Regions from separate parts of the Homo sapiens genome. Here region 2 is linked to region 1. The links are contacts of gene promoters, found by promoter capture Hi-C in blood cells and fetal thymus (Javierre and others, 2016). All regions are on one chromosome and are shown on one strand. The core of a region is centred on a gene start or on the middle of the fragment in contact, and the rest is flanking DNA. Distances in the headings are between cores, read along the strand shown. Region 1 holds the start of NTPCR (nucleoside-triphosphatase, cancer-related). Region 2 overlaps PCNX2 (pecanex 2).

Region 1 (6,960 bases), core at 3,830-6,329:
ATCTCTTGACCTCGTGATCCACCTGCCTCGGCCTCCCAAAGCACTGGGATTACAGGTGTGAGCCACTGCGCCTGGCTCCGTTGTTCTTATTCGAAGGGGAACACCTAGTAGGTGAGTGACCTGCCCAACTTGCTTGGTCAAGCAAAGTCTTATGCCTATCTCATGGGGACATCACCCAAGGATGATTATCGGATGGTTACCTCAATGTACCACCTGTCCTTTAAAGCTGGGAAAGCCTGTAGGACTTTCCTGCTGCTCTGCCCCTGCTCTTTGTCTTCCCTGACAGTCCCATGCTGTCTATGGGGATATAATTCACTTATTCACTCATGTGCTTAAGAAAATATCAGTTGAGCACCTATGATAAGCATGTGCCAGTAAATGCACAAACGTTATTTCTGTAGCAGCTGGATTATTACAGCAGCATTCAGATTGGTCTTCCTGCTTCTACCATTGCCTTTCTGTAGCCAATTTCCTACACACACGACTGATGATCCTTTTAAAAGAATTTACATAATGCCATTCTTCTGGTCAAAACCCTCCAATGGCTTTCCAGCTGTTACAGTAAAAGCTAGAGTCCTCACCATGGCCTATAAGGCCTGAACCACCTGCAGCCCCTCTGACCTCACCTCCTGTGCATCTCTCTCTCCTACTCTGCTCCGGCCACACTGGTTTGCTTGGTTCCTTCTCAGGCCATGTGTTCCCACGTCACGACCTCTGCACATGCCAATGCCTCTCTCTAGACCGCCATCCCCCAGACACCGGCAGGGCTTGCTTCCTTCAACTCTCTGCTCAGATGCTGTATTCTCAGTAATATCTTCCCTGACCACCTTCTATGGAGTAGCACATCCACTTCCCTTTTCATTTCCCATCCTTTTATTTTTTCCTCCATGGCCTTACTACTCTGTGGCATTTTATTTATGTACTTGTCTGTCTGTGTCTCCCACCAGAATATAAGCTATAGCAGCACAGAGACTGTCTTCTTTGCTGCTGTATCTCCAGGACGTACATTTCCTGGTACACAGTGATGGATGAATGTGTTGTAAGTACCGTGCTATATTCTGGGTATAAAGAGATGAATAGCACAAGATTTTTTAGATTCTTTTTTTTTTTTTTTGAGGTGGAGTCTCACTCTGTTGCCCAGGCTGTAGTGCAGTGGCTCACTGCAACCTCTGCCTCCTGGGTTCAAACGATTCTCCTGCCTCAGCCTCCCGAGTAGCTGGGATTACAGGTGCCGGGCCACCACACCCAGCTAATTTTTCTATTTTTAGCAGAGACGGTGTTTCACCATGTTGGCTAGGCCAGTCATGAACTCCTGACCTCAAGTGATCTGCCCACCTTGGCCTCCGAAAGTGTTGGGATTACAGGTGTAAGCCACCGCACCCAGCCTAGATTTTTACCTTTGGAGGAGTTCATAACTGGGTGGCAGGAGAAGAGGCAGATGCCAGCAATCAGGGGGTGCTGTAAGGGAAGGCCAAGGGAGCAGAGGCTGGGCCTGGAGAATCACAAAAGCCTTGGGGAGCAGTAACAGTTGAGCCCATCCTGGAGGATGAGCAAGGAGTGACTGGGGAGAATGCGGGGGAGGCCTCTCACACCCCCTCTCACTTCCCCTTGTCCCTCTGCTTCAGTCATGGTGGCTGGTGGCTGTCCTCGATCCCCACTGGCTAGGGGTAGATGTGTTGCCCGGGTCACATGCTTCCTCAGAGTCAATCACTGAGGCTGGGAAGATAGAATGATCTCGTTGACCAGGCTTGGGTCATGTATTCCCCTTGGATAATGAGAAAGGGAGGGAGGTTCACTCCTATCAATCACAGAGCCTGGGAGAAAGGGGGTTCCTAAAAGGAGAATTTAGCTGCTATTTCCATACAGTGAAATGAACAGTGGGCTGGCCAAACAACACAATGGTCTCTCTTCCCACTTGGTTATTTTCACATCCATACTTTTTCTTTGTTCTGTTTTCAGTTTTCCTGTACTTAGGAAACTGTACCCTAAATATGCCAGAACTCTTGTTCTGTGTCCAGCCAGGAAGATGCCACAGGATGCCAGTAGCAGCTGGGCGTGGGGGACATCCAGGCATGCGGTGTAGGAAGGGGTGGGGTGAGGGTGTAGAGTCATCTCTGCTTCTGTCCTACTGGGTTACTGGCAGGATAGAACATTGTTCTGCACAGAGATTAGAACTCAGGGTATGAATGGCTCAGAGTTTAGGTACAGACTGCATTAAACAGTCATTCTATAACCACCGCTGACAAGACAACCAGCTTACAATAAAGTATTATTAGCCTTTGACTTGTTTGTAAGAAGGAATTATCTTGTTTAACCACATGAAACCTTCTGCTTTACTTCCCAAATGTTCCTTTAACAGTTTGATGACCATTCATCCTGGTTTGCTCGGGATTGAGGGGCTTTCTAAGACACAGAATTTGCAGTTTAAAAATTAGGACAGTTCTGGGAAAAGGGTAGATATGAAAACAAAATAAACAGTGTTTTTTGGACTTTAGGGTATTTTATAATTGTAGAGACTGTAGAGTTGTACCTACAAACTGTTTTAATAAAGAACTGTACTGCATCCTGTCATAAGTGAGGCTGCACCCAGGTGTTGCAGAAGAAATCTTTGGAATCACCTGTTCCTTAGGTAATTAATTCTACCTTGTGTGTTAGCTCAGGCTACTATAATAGAGTACCACAGATGAGTGGCTTAAACAAAAAAACATTTATTTCTTACAACTCTGGAGGCTGAAGTTTAAGATCAGGGTGCCAACACGACTGGGTTCTTGGGGAAGGCCCTCATCTTGGTTGACAGAGAGCAGTCTTCTCCTCGTATCTTCACATGGCAGAGAGCAGAGAGATAGAAAGCAAGTTTTCTCCCGCCTTTTTCTAAGGGTACTAATCACATTCATGAGGACTCCACTCTAGTGACCTGATTACCTAATTGCTTCTTTAAGGCCCCACACTTTAATACCTTCACCTTGTGGGTTAGGATTTCAACAATATGAATTTTGGGGGGACACAAACATCCGTCCATTGGATGTTGATTAGATAGGAAGCAAAAGTTGGATTCAGTATGGTACAGTACTTTAAGATCCCATTTATTTTAAAATTTGTTTCAATTTATGCCATCTTCTTTTGTTGTTAATCTCTAAGAGATATAAGCTATTTAATTTTTTGTTATTGTTACCTAATAACACATACAGGAAACTGTAGAAATTAAGCATCAAATCAATGAATTTTCTAACAAGAAGATATCCGTGGAACTACCATCCAAATAATTCATTTTCCATGGATAAAGTACATTCAACTATGGAGTCTTTTTTTCTGTTTTGTGAGACGTTGATTCACCATATCTGAATTCCATGTATCTTTGAGCTACTTAAACTGATGCCAGAATTCCAGGCACAGCAACAAAACAAAAGAACCCAACTTCCGGTGAGCCTTGCAAATCCAAACTGCTTTTCAGTGATGGAAAATGCTATCTGATTAACATTTAAAACGAGTACTTTTGATACAAGAGATACATATACTTTTTTCCTTTTTTTTGGAAGCTCCTCCTATGAATTTACTTTACTATATCAACTTTTCACTGTATTCAACATATATGGACTGCAAAATAAATCAAGGTGGAAGGCCCTACATTAACAGTTGGGATAATAAATAGTATACTGTTATAATAATAGAGCATTACAAATGTTGCAGAAATGATGGTGATGACAGCTATATTTTACAAATCCAACTTTGTTTTTTTAGATAATCATTGGACTGGCATATGTCTCAGGCTAAAGGGAAACCAAGAGGTCCATGTGTGGGCAGAAACCAATTAAGTTGAGCACTCACTGAACTGCTTTCTCAGCCAGGATGGGGAACGACTGACTACAAATTAAGCTGTACACATGTTAGACTGAAAGAGTTTACAGGTAAATGTGGCCCAAGGCCACTGCCACGTCATTCGTTGGCCGGAACACTTGCAGTGGTAAAGTGAGACGGAGAAGCTATTTAATTCTTTGCAAGAGGAGATCTTTATACACTTTGGTGTGAAAGTAAAGAGGGAAAACTGGGCGTCCTATGCATGGCTGAGGACGGGAAGCCTGCCTACACCAGTGGTTCTCAACCCTAGCGCACTTCAGGAACTTCCTGGAGTTTAGAAAGAAGAAAAAAGAATACAGGTGCTCAAGACTCGCTCAAGACCAATTACTCATGTTAAACAAGATTTATGGGAGGCCATTGTTTTGGACTAACCTCCTGCACTAGGTCCTAGCAGACTAGACCAAACCAGAATGGAGTCACTTGTGCCAAGTGCCATGTAACCAAACTGAACTTTGAAACAGGCCCGTTTTCCCAAAAAACAGGAGATTGTAGTTAACCTGAGTCAGTACAATAACGAAGTCCAATCTGTTTTAACCCTATAAGGAAAGTAACTTTGAAATACCCACTCTTTGTTTTGTTCTTCAGCCTTTTTTTGCCCATAAAGCCAACCTCCTCTGCACAACTCATTGGAACACTCTATTTGCTTTATGAAATGATCTATTTCTCGATTCTAGATCCTAAATATAAGCCAATTAGATCTTTAAACTAAACTTGTAATTTTGTCTTCTGACACTCCCTATTACTGCAGGTGAAACCCAGGCATCAGAGCAAGTTTAAAACTCCCCAGCTGATTCTATTCTGCAGGAATGTTTGAGAACAAAGTTGGAGTCATTAACATGGCATCCCCCTTTGAGGAATGCTTCCAGGTCACAAACCTTCTACAAAAGGGCTGTCCCGGCAGCCTTGGGCAATTTCAGCTCCTAGGTCCGGAGTCAAGGGGCAGAACTTGGGTGATGGCGCTGACTTGAAGCAGCAATAGTTTAATAACTGACGTTCTCACGCACTTATCTCTGCAAATACCCCACAAAAGCCCTGAACCCAGAATGAAACTTAAGAGACCGTACAACCCGCTCCGCCTATAGGAACTGCCGCGGCACAGGCGCCAATGCCGAGGGCTGAATGCGCAGGCGCGGACCGGGGACTCGGGAGAAGGCGCATGCGTGGTCTTGAGGGCGGTGCTTCCGGTCAAAGCACCGCTTGGGGGCGGGGCCTGCGACACGCGGTGGGCGGGTCCTGAGTCGCGACCCTGGTCCGGACCTGACCTGAATTGCGACCCCAACCTGGACTGCTCCCCTGACCGCAACCCCTACCCCCGCCCACCAGTATGGCCCGGCACGTGTTCCTAACGGGGCCCCCAGGTAACCCTGAGGGGATCCCCACCTCCAAGAGGTCGAGGGGGTGGGGGCGCGCGGGCTGCGGGCGACCTTGTGCTGTCGGGGAGGGTCTCCGGCTCCAGGGCTCCGGCCTCTGAAGTTCCCAATTTAAATGGCGGGCTTGGTAGTCTGAAGAGTTTGTACTCCTTCCCGGAAAACGTGATTTAAAAGACACAGGGCCTAAAGGATTAGAACACACTTGTGAGGGGGTCCTAGACTGGCTTCTTGATGAAGGGCAGAAACCGCAGGGGCCAGCGGCAGCGGTAACTCCTACTGTAGTGTTGACGTTGTGGTCTGCACAAATGGTATTTCAAGAGATCTGCGGCAACCGCGATGTGAAGTGGAGATGTCTAATTTCTGTTGATAGTCACAGGTATTTCCTTACTGTGGGTCTTTGCTACATTGATCGTGCAAAAAAAAAATGGTAAATTTTAGTTGGAGGACAGCGAAACTGAAGTTGTAACCTTTCTTTCCCATCTAAGTTCATCCCCCCACCCCCATCCCCATCTCCATCCCCACGAATTCCCTCCACAGCTGAGGCCAGAGGTGGAGAAGCTTTGGTACCTACAGGAGCCCTTCTCAGACACTCTTGCTTGTTCCTGTCGCTGTCCCCTCCTGATGTCTGTCAGATCCCTCAACCCTGTGGCCTGTGGAGTTCTCATCTGAGAAGCAGGATAGCGTTGAGGTCAGATGAGAGGTGTAGGAGGAGGTGCTTTTAAACCAAGGCGCTACCCATGTATCAAGCATTACTAAAAAGGACAGGTAGGCTGCATCAGATAGGCTAAAAAAAGATAGATGGGCTAAGAGTGGAGAAAGTGATTTCTTCAGCTCCTTTGCAAGGCAAATCTAATTTTGAAGTTTAGTGTGGGTTCAGATATCAAAGGCTGTAACCCTGGATCTAGAATTCTCTTTCACTTTATTTTAATGATTATGTTTAGTTGTAAGTAGCAAAGGCTACAGCTAATATTGCAGACTTTGGGATTTTGTCAGGCATTGGATGGGGGAGTTGGGGAGCAGGGGGTGAGGAGGAGGAGGGTGGTTTGAGAAATGCCTGCTATCTAAAGTCACTCCTAAGTATTGCAAAGAACTGTTTTCTGAAAGTTGGTTTGTCAATCCTTTATTTGAAACTTGGAATGCAGTTTGATACTCAGCAGGCTGACCCCAAGACAACTGTGTGTTTTATTAATGGAGGTGTCCTGTTACCGTGATTGTATTGATGGTGGTTCTTGTTTCTGCTTTATCAAAGTCTTACCTACACGTAGTTGAAAGACTCAAATAATTCTACAGTGTAGCTCTCTTAAACCTGTCCTCAAACCCACGCACCTTTGTCTTTTCTCCTTCTCTTCTTAATGTAGTTACAGCGTAATTTTCATTAGTCAATGTTTACAGTATTATGGCCATGTAAAGACAATCACAACAGAGCCACATAGTAATCTATGATTTCTTTTCCATTTATTTATTTATTTTAGAGACAGGATCTTGCTTTGTCACCCAGGCTGGAGTGCAGTGAAACAGTTATAGCTCACTGCATTCTCAAACTCCTGGGCTTAAGTGATCCTCCCACTTCAACCTCCTGAATAGCTGGATCTACAAGCGCATGCCACCACACCCGGGTATTTTTTTTTTTTTGTAGAGACCTGTCTCTTGTTATGTTGCCCAGGCTGATCTCCAACTCCTAGCCTCAAGTGATCCTCCCATCTGGGCCTCCCAAAATACTGGGATTATAAGTGTG
Region 2 (6,760 bases), core at 1,668-4,167, 230 kb after region 1:
AAAACTCAAGAAGAGAGACAGACAGACAGAGAAAATAAGAGCTGGAGACACAGAGAAACAAAATCAGAGACAATGGGAGGGGGGTTTATGCTTGCACAGTGTCACAGAAGGTATTATATCAAACTCTAAAAGCTGAATGTGATATTCCCATTAAAATATTATAATTAGGCCAGAGACTTTTCAGAGAAATGAACACAAACATCTTATTAAATCACCTAACAAGTTATGTGCTCCACACTGTACAAAGCATTTCAAAGGGTATGAAAACCAAGGGAGGCAACACCTAGCCCATCACATCTAATTATACCAATGAAATACTATCAACCTCTGCTGGGCAAATTTCTTGTCAAATTTCCTTGTAATTCCTACCTTTTTTTTAACTGCAATAAATCAGAAAGTAGAAATGCATCTTCATTAGTCATGAAATCAAGGAAGATTGAAGGGCATAGTTTTTCTCAGATATCCATGGGGAGACTTTTGGGTAGACTCTGGGCCACCCTACGGCTTTTACAGAAAATGCTGTAGGAATGTCAGTTTGACCTTCTCCCTGTAAGTCTCCTGGTATAAATATTAGAGGTCAGGTTGTGGATGCTAGGCTTATGTCAAATATTTCTCTTTTTTTTTAAGCTGCCATCTCATCAGGCCCAGCTGCTTTGACTTTTAACCTGCTTTTAAATGTATCTCTGCTCCTAAAATTCATGAACTATGCCCTTACTCATATTAAGTGATTTGTCCTTTGATTCCCTTGTAGTGGAAAAAAAGCCTTAATACTAGTTTGAATTCTGACCACACTCAAAGGCACAAAAGCTGAGTATGAATTTTTTTAAGGCTATCATGTTGGCTGTGAGTCCTGTACGTCGTCTTGAAATGGCAGACTGCAATTAAATTCATCGAAATTCCATGAACTGTACTGAGCACCCACTGTAACACCGGGCACTGGCTCTGTGGATATCAAGACAAATGAGACACAGTCCTGGCTGGATCAACAGACTATTTCTCTTTTCCTTTTATCTGTCATTCCTAAGAAAACCAGGAAAAGTGTGAGTCAAGGACATCAGAGGCTCCAAGCTCAATACTCAGATGTATGGGAGCTTACACAATTAATGAGCATTGTGTTTCAAAGTATGAATGTTTGTAAGTTGATACCAAAGAAACGACATCTGCTAAAAGAACTTTTGAAGCTGTCCAGAGCCCTTATCCTGGTGAACAAGGAAATGGCATCATTATTTTATAGTTGTAGGATTCTCTTGTTCCTTCCTTTCTCTCCTTCTTCCTTTTCTTCTCCCGTGCTCCACCCAGTGTGGTTGCCCCCTTCTCTGTGACCCAGCCATAAGTCTAAAGTCCAAGGGCCCCAAGCAATCGCTATGCAGACATCAACTTTGAAAGAATGCTCTGAACTAAGCATGGTGCTTAGGGGAGAAGATGTGGAGAACAGCTGTGTGTGGACCACATCAGGAGGGCAGGTTGGCTAAACGTTTATCTGACAAGCTTTCATTTGTGCAGAGCCCACCTGCTGTTTGGTGCCAGCAATACACAAAACGGACTGAATGTGATTCATGTGACTATCCTGGCAAACTGCAGCCACCTGAGGGCCACCTAAGTGGCCACACCATGTGTGCACAACAGCCACCATCAAGATGCTCTAGGCTGGGGGCGGTGGCTCACGCCTGTAATCCCAGCAATTTGGGAGGCTGAGGCAGGCAGATCACGTGGTCAGGAGATCGAGACCATCCTGGTTAACACGGTGAAACCCCGTCTCTACTAAAAAAATACAAAAAATTAGCTGGGCATGGTGGCGGGCACCTGTAGTCCCAGCTACTCGGGCTGAGGCAGGAGAATGGTGTGAACCTGGGAGGCGGAGCTTGCAGTGAGCCGAGATCATGCCACTGCACTCCAGCCTGGGAGACAGTGAGATTCTGTCTCTAAAGAAAAAAAAAGATGCTCTAAAGGGCTTGTAAAAAAATAAAGTAAAGGTTCCTCTTCAAAGACTTTCCTCCCCATTTAATTAGGAATAAATAGTAACTTCTCTTAGAAGCAAAATTTATTCAAAGACCTGTGCTAACATTCTTAAATATCTGCTAGCCGTGATAAAGAAATCAATGTACTTTATGTTCTTAGCTCCCACAATTTAGCCTAAATACTTGCTCTGGCATGCTTATACTGGTCCAAGCAAGCATTAGGTCATAGCCTGATCCTCTTCCTTATTTAAAGGTGTTTTTACCTTTCTTAGCATTCCACAAGTTACTTCCTCCTTCCTTTGTTCTCCTCTACCTTTGCCTCTTCTAAAAAGTTCTAAGTTGCTAGCCAATCGGGACAAATATAGAATGTGAGGCCCCATTCCAGCCAATGGAAACCGGACACAGCAGTAAGGTGGATGTGTCAGGTTATAAATGACCCTGTCTCCTTTGTTTGGTGTACTCTCATGGCAAAACTGCTGGCGAGTGTACCCTTTCTGCAGAAAGTATAAAAATGGCCTTGCTGAGTAAGTTAAATTTACTTTCAAGTGATATTCTTTACAGCACCGGAGAGCAAGCGTTTCAAATAGGGCTGCACCTGGCAGGCAGCTCAACAGCCCAGTGTGCCAGGTACCAAGCGAGGTGTATCTTTCTGTCCTAGTCCTTCTCATGTCCACCTGCCTAGAGCTCCATTGAGAGCCTGATCTCTGCTGAAAGATGAGGCCCTCCTATGCTACATTACACAACGCAAATGTCTCACCACTGAATCTTTCATCTTCTTGGGGAGAGGGTCAGCAGCTGACTCTGCCAGATTTTGATGTAAAAATTTAGGAAACAGCCTGCATTGGATGAAGGACCTGAAAGTGGAAAAACACAATACTTCATCAAAGATGTTCCTGGGACAGTGTTTTCGGTAAATAACTTCACCTTAGATCTCACACCCACACATGACAAAAACAAGTGCTCTCTTCATTTAAAAATTTATAATAAAAAGAGGTGCATGTTCAAGTGATCATAAAGATAGTGTTTTGATTTGTAAATTTCATCCTAATGAGAGCAGTCAAGTACCTTAGCAGTATCATTGCCCTCTATTGTCAGCAGTGGGACATGGGGAAGGTCCTCCATCTCTGCTAGCCCACTAGGGCTTCATCTTCACAATTAGCAGCAAAAAGTGAACATTGCACTAATACAATTGACACTAAAAATTGTGTGAACCATGTTTAACTTTTGTTTCCCCCATTTTTCATGCCTTTCACACTACTGCACCTCATGGCCTAAAATTATGGTGTCTCTGGTCTTCAAAGAGTTACGGTTATCTTAAATCAAAATCTTTCATAAATTTAAACAAATTACATAAGATGCTACTGTCAATATCTTAAACTCACTGTGGCATCACATGAAAGATTTCCAGTGCCAGAGTACACGTTACCAAAACTTAAAGATATGATTAAAGGGAAGATTGTAATGTATACTTTCACATTACTAAGCATTACATTAAATACATTTTAACACTTTGGTGCAAATTTCACTTTAAATCCAGAGGACGTTGGCCAGATTGGGAACAACAACAACAACAAAACAATAAAATCAAACAAAATCTTTCTTTTCAGAGGTGCTGGTTTAGTCTCCCCAGGGTAACTGCCTAGAGTAAAGGCAGGGATGTAGTTAATGGATCTAGAGAGGGTATTGTTGAGGAGGCAGCTTCTTACCCAGCTCACCCAAGGGAAAGTCACAACAGGGCTTGGGTGCTATCGACCCTCTGTTCCTGCCACTGTGCATTTTACTCCAAAATCAAAAGAGCAAAACTAAAATGTTTGCTAGATGTTCATTTTTAATTGTTATTAGTTTCTGGCTGGTCCTGTATTTCTCCTTCCCTCCTCTAGTGAGTGACCAGCTAGTTTAATAATGAGAGTCAAATCACAATGGGCAGTGAATTGCTGTCTGCCCATCTCAGTCAGGGCACAAAGCTGCAGGAACTATGCCCCCAGCTCAGTGATGAGAGAGCACAGGCATAGACCACTCACATGAGTACAGATGGGTCACTGCTCTGACGGCTCAGATGGTAAGAAAGGGCGACCAAGAGGCCACAGAAGGCCGAAAACAGTGCCGGGATGTGTTGCATGCTCCACGGTTCCTAAAGAAAAGACATCAGTTAGCCAAGTCACTCCACAGCTGTGTGAATAGCAGGATCTCTATCAGACATTTAGAAATATCCCCAAGGTCCAGCTGGATGGATGAGTTATTCCCATGATTATTCCTGCCCACGGACATATAAGCATCTGGTGGGCACACAAAAAACTCACCTGTTGGTTTATAGACATTGATTTTGATAAGGAACTTTTTGACTAATTATACATACTTATAAGAATAAAACTGAATCTTTCCTGAAATTAAGCTTAGAATGTTCTATAGAATGTAATATTAAACATGTGTCCCTCCTCTGAATTCAATATAATAATTAACAATTATAATAATTGTATTTCTCAATGTTTATTAATTGATGGTCTAAATGGCATAAAAAATGTAAAAATGACATAAGAGATTAAATAGACTAATGAACTGAAAACCTGATAAAGATTGTAGAAAGTAGAAAAGTTCCTCTTCAAAGCTTGTCTTGGTTTAAAAATATAATAATAGACACTAGGAATAATAGCTTCTTACTCTAAAGCCTCCTATCAACTATCAGTTCTTACACTTTAGCCCAGTTAGTTGCTTTGGCTTACTCAAGCATGTCTGGACAGGCCCAGGCAAGTCTTAGCTCATAGCTTATGCCCCTTCCCTATTTGGAAATGTTATTGCTTCCTTAAACCTTTCATGAGCAACTTTCTCTTCTTCTTTGTTCTCCCTTGCACTTACCTGTTTAAGAAAGTGTTAAGCTATTAGCAAATAGGGTATCTGTTTAAGACTGTGAGGTCCAGCTCCAGCCAATGGATGCCAGACACAGCAGTAAGGACGACCCAAATGTGTAAGGGATAAATATGTCTGCTTTTCCTTTGTTCAAGCGTGCTCTCGCCATTGTTCCATCTGCATAGAGCACCCTTTCTGCAGGAAGTAAAAATGGCCTTGCTGAGAGAATTAAATTTATGTTCGAGTGCTATTTCTTTGTGGCACCAGGGAACAAGCATTTCTAACAAAGATTAAAGATAATCACCTGAGGAAAGAGCAAAGTTATTTGAAATGAAAAGAGGCACTTCAGGTTTAATTTGATAGAAGCACAGATGTCAGTTATCAACACATTGTATTCGGCCTGGCAGAGCAGAACATGGGAAATACATGTTACCACCCCAACCAGTGTGGTGGCCTGGGACTCCAGCTCCTCTCCCACACACACCTGGTGCTCCCACCAACACAAACATGTCTCTCATACACCAAGAAGAAAACATCTACATATTTAATCTTCTCAATCACCATCAGCAGAATCACTGATGCCTTCTGAAAGCTGAATTTAGTCAAGAACTTAAATACTTTTCTGTCAAGATTTTTTTTTAAGATGGGTTAATTGTGGTGCTTATAATGAAATCTACAAATGAATGAGTCAAGTGTGCTTAGCAGTTGTCCACTGTAACTGCTAAAATAGTCTGGAAAAGCAAATGATACACTGGATAGAGCAAGTGATTTTATTTTTACATGCTTCATTTTCCTAGAAATTAAAATGTATTTCTTTTATCTTCCCCATTGTGGAAGTCTAAACGCCCGAGAGCAGTACCTGTAAAGCAAATTGCAGGGAGCTGAGTCTTCCTGAGGCTGCTGAGCTGCATGGCTACAAAGTCAGGAAGTAAGACTCACTGCCTCCAGACGCACTCTCCACACAGCTCCCCACACCAGGACGCCCTGCATGCCTCTCAGATCAGCTTCCCCGAGGGTGGGGTGCCTTTTCCAGCACTCTAAGGTACCATGTCTGCATTTATTATTTTTCTAATTCTGTGCAGATGTCTTCCCCACCAATTTTGCTGAAAAGCTCAAACCCAGTGATGAGGCATCCTGCACGGACCTCTTCTTTCTTTGGAGTTTTCATCAGCAACGCCTTCCCTTCCAGTGTCCAAGGGAGAGGTGTACTTCCTCCTTCCCTGAGCCCAACTCTCCCCTCACACTAGGATGTCCTACTTTCTTTTCATTGGTCCCCTCTGCCCCGCCTATAAAAATGCTCAAGTTGCTGACTTTTTTTTTTTTTTTTTTGAGCTGGAGTCACTCTCTATCACCCAGGCTAGAGTGCAGTCATACAATCTCAGCTCACTGCAAACTCCACCTCCCGGGTTCAAGCAATTCTCATACCTCAGCTTCCCAAGTAGCTGGGATTACAGGCACACACCACCACACCCAGCTAATTTTTTATTATAGTAGAGACGGGGTTTCACCATGTTGGTCAGACTGGTTTCGAACTCCTGACCTCAGGTGATCTGCCTGCCTCGGCCTCGCAAAGTGCTGGGATTAAAGGGTGAGCCACCATACCCGGCCAGTTGCTGACATCTTTAACAAATAAAAAAAGTTCTCCTTCCCCTTGATCCAGTTGCCCTTGAAAGCTACTGTACTCTTAGTCTGTTCGGGCTGATATAAGAAAATATCATAGACTGGGTGGCTTATAAACCACAGAAATTTATTTCTCACAGTTCTGGGCACTGAAAGCCCAAGGTCAAGGTGCAGGAAGGAGAAGGTTTGTTGTCTGGGGAGGCCCTGCTTCCTGACTCCTAGATGATGCCTTTTTGTTGTGTTCTCACATGGTAGAAGATGCAAGAGAGCATTCTAGGGCCTCTTTTACAAGGACACTGATCTGATTCATGAGGACTCCTCCCTCAATATCTGTAATC

What was found. Contacts are between HindIII fragments. The CHiCAGO score rates a contact against its expected background, and 5 or more counts as called.
Region 2: a contact is called between a fragment that was not itself captured here and the fragment with the promoter of NTPCR in region 1, in 1 of 17 cell types (neutrophils). The highest score is 5.6, in neutrophils.

The regions. Positions count from the first base shown.
Region 1 is chr1:232,945,532-232,952,491 of GRCh38, forward strand. NTPCR (nucleoside-triphosphatase, cancer-related) reads left to right here and starts at 5,080. Exons shown (of 5, transcript NM_032324.3): 1 at 5,080-5,213. The coding sequence starts at 5,180. It overlaps LOC107985361 (a long non-coding RNA gene), which reads right to left and starts at 6,018. Exons shown (of 2, transcript XR_001738525.2): 1 at 5,797-6,018; 2 at 2,689-5,625. RefSeq lists enhancers at 4,802-4,901, 4,814-5,355, 5,356-5,895. The HindIII fragment of the contact is 8,064 bases long and covers 1-5,781 here.
Region 2 is chr1:233,175,087-233,181,846 of GRCh38, forward strand. PCNX2 (pecanex 2) reads right to left here. Exons shown (of 34, transcript NM_014801.4): 16 at 3,980-4,089; 17 at 2,716-2,812. Among named protein-coding and RNA genes, the nearest start is that of PCNX2, 120 kb to the right of the region's middle. RefSeq lists enhancers at 4,059-5,258, 4,588-4,777. The HindIII fragment of the contact is 2,862 bases long and covers 1,487-4,348 here.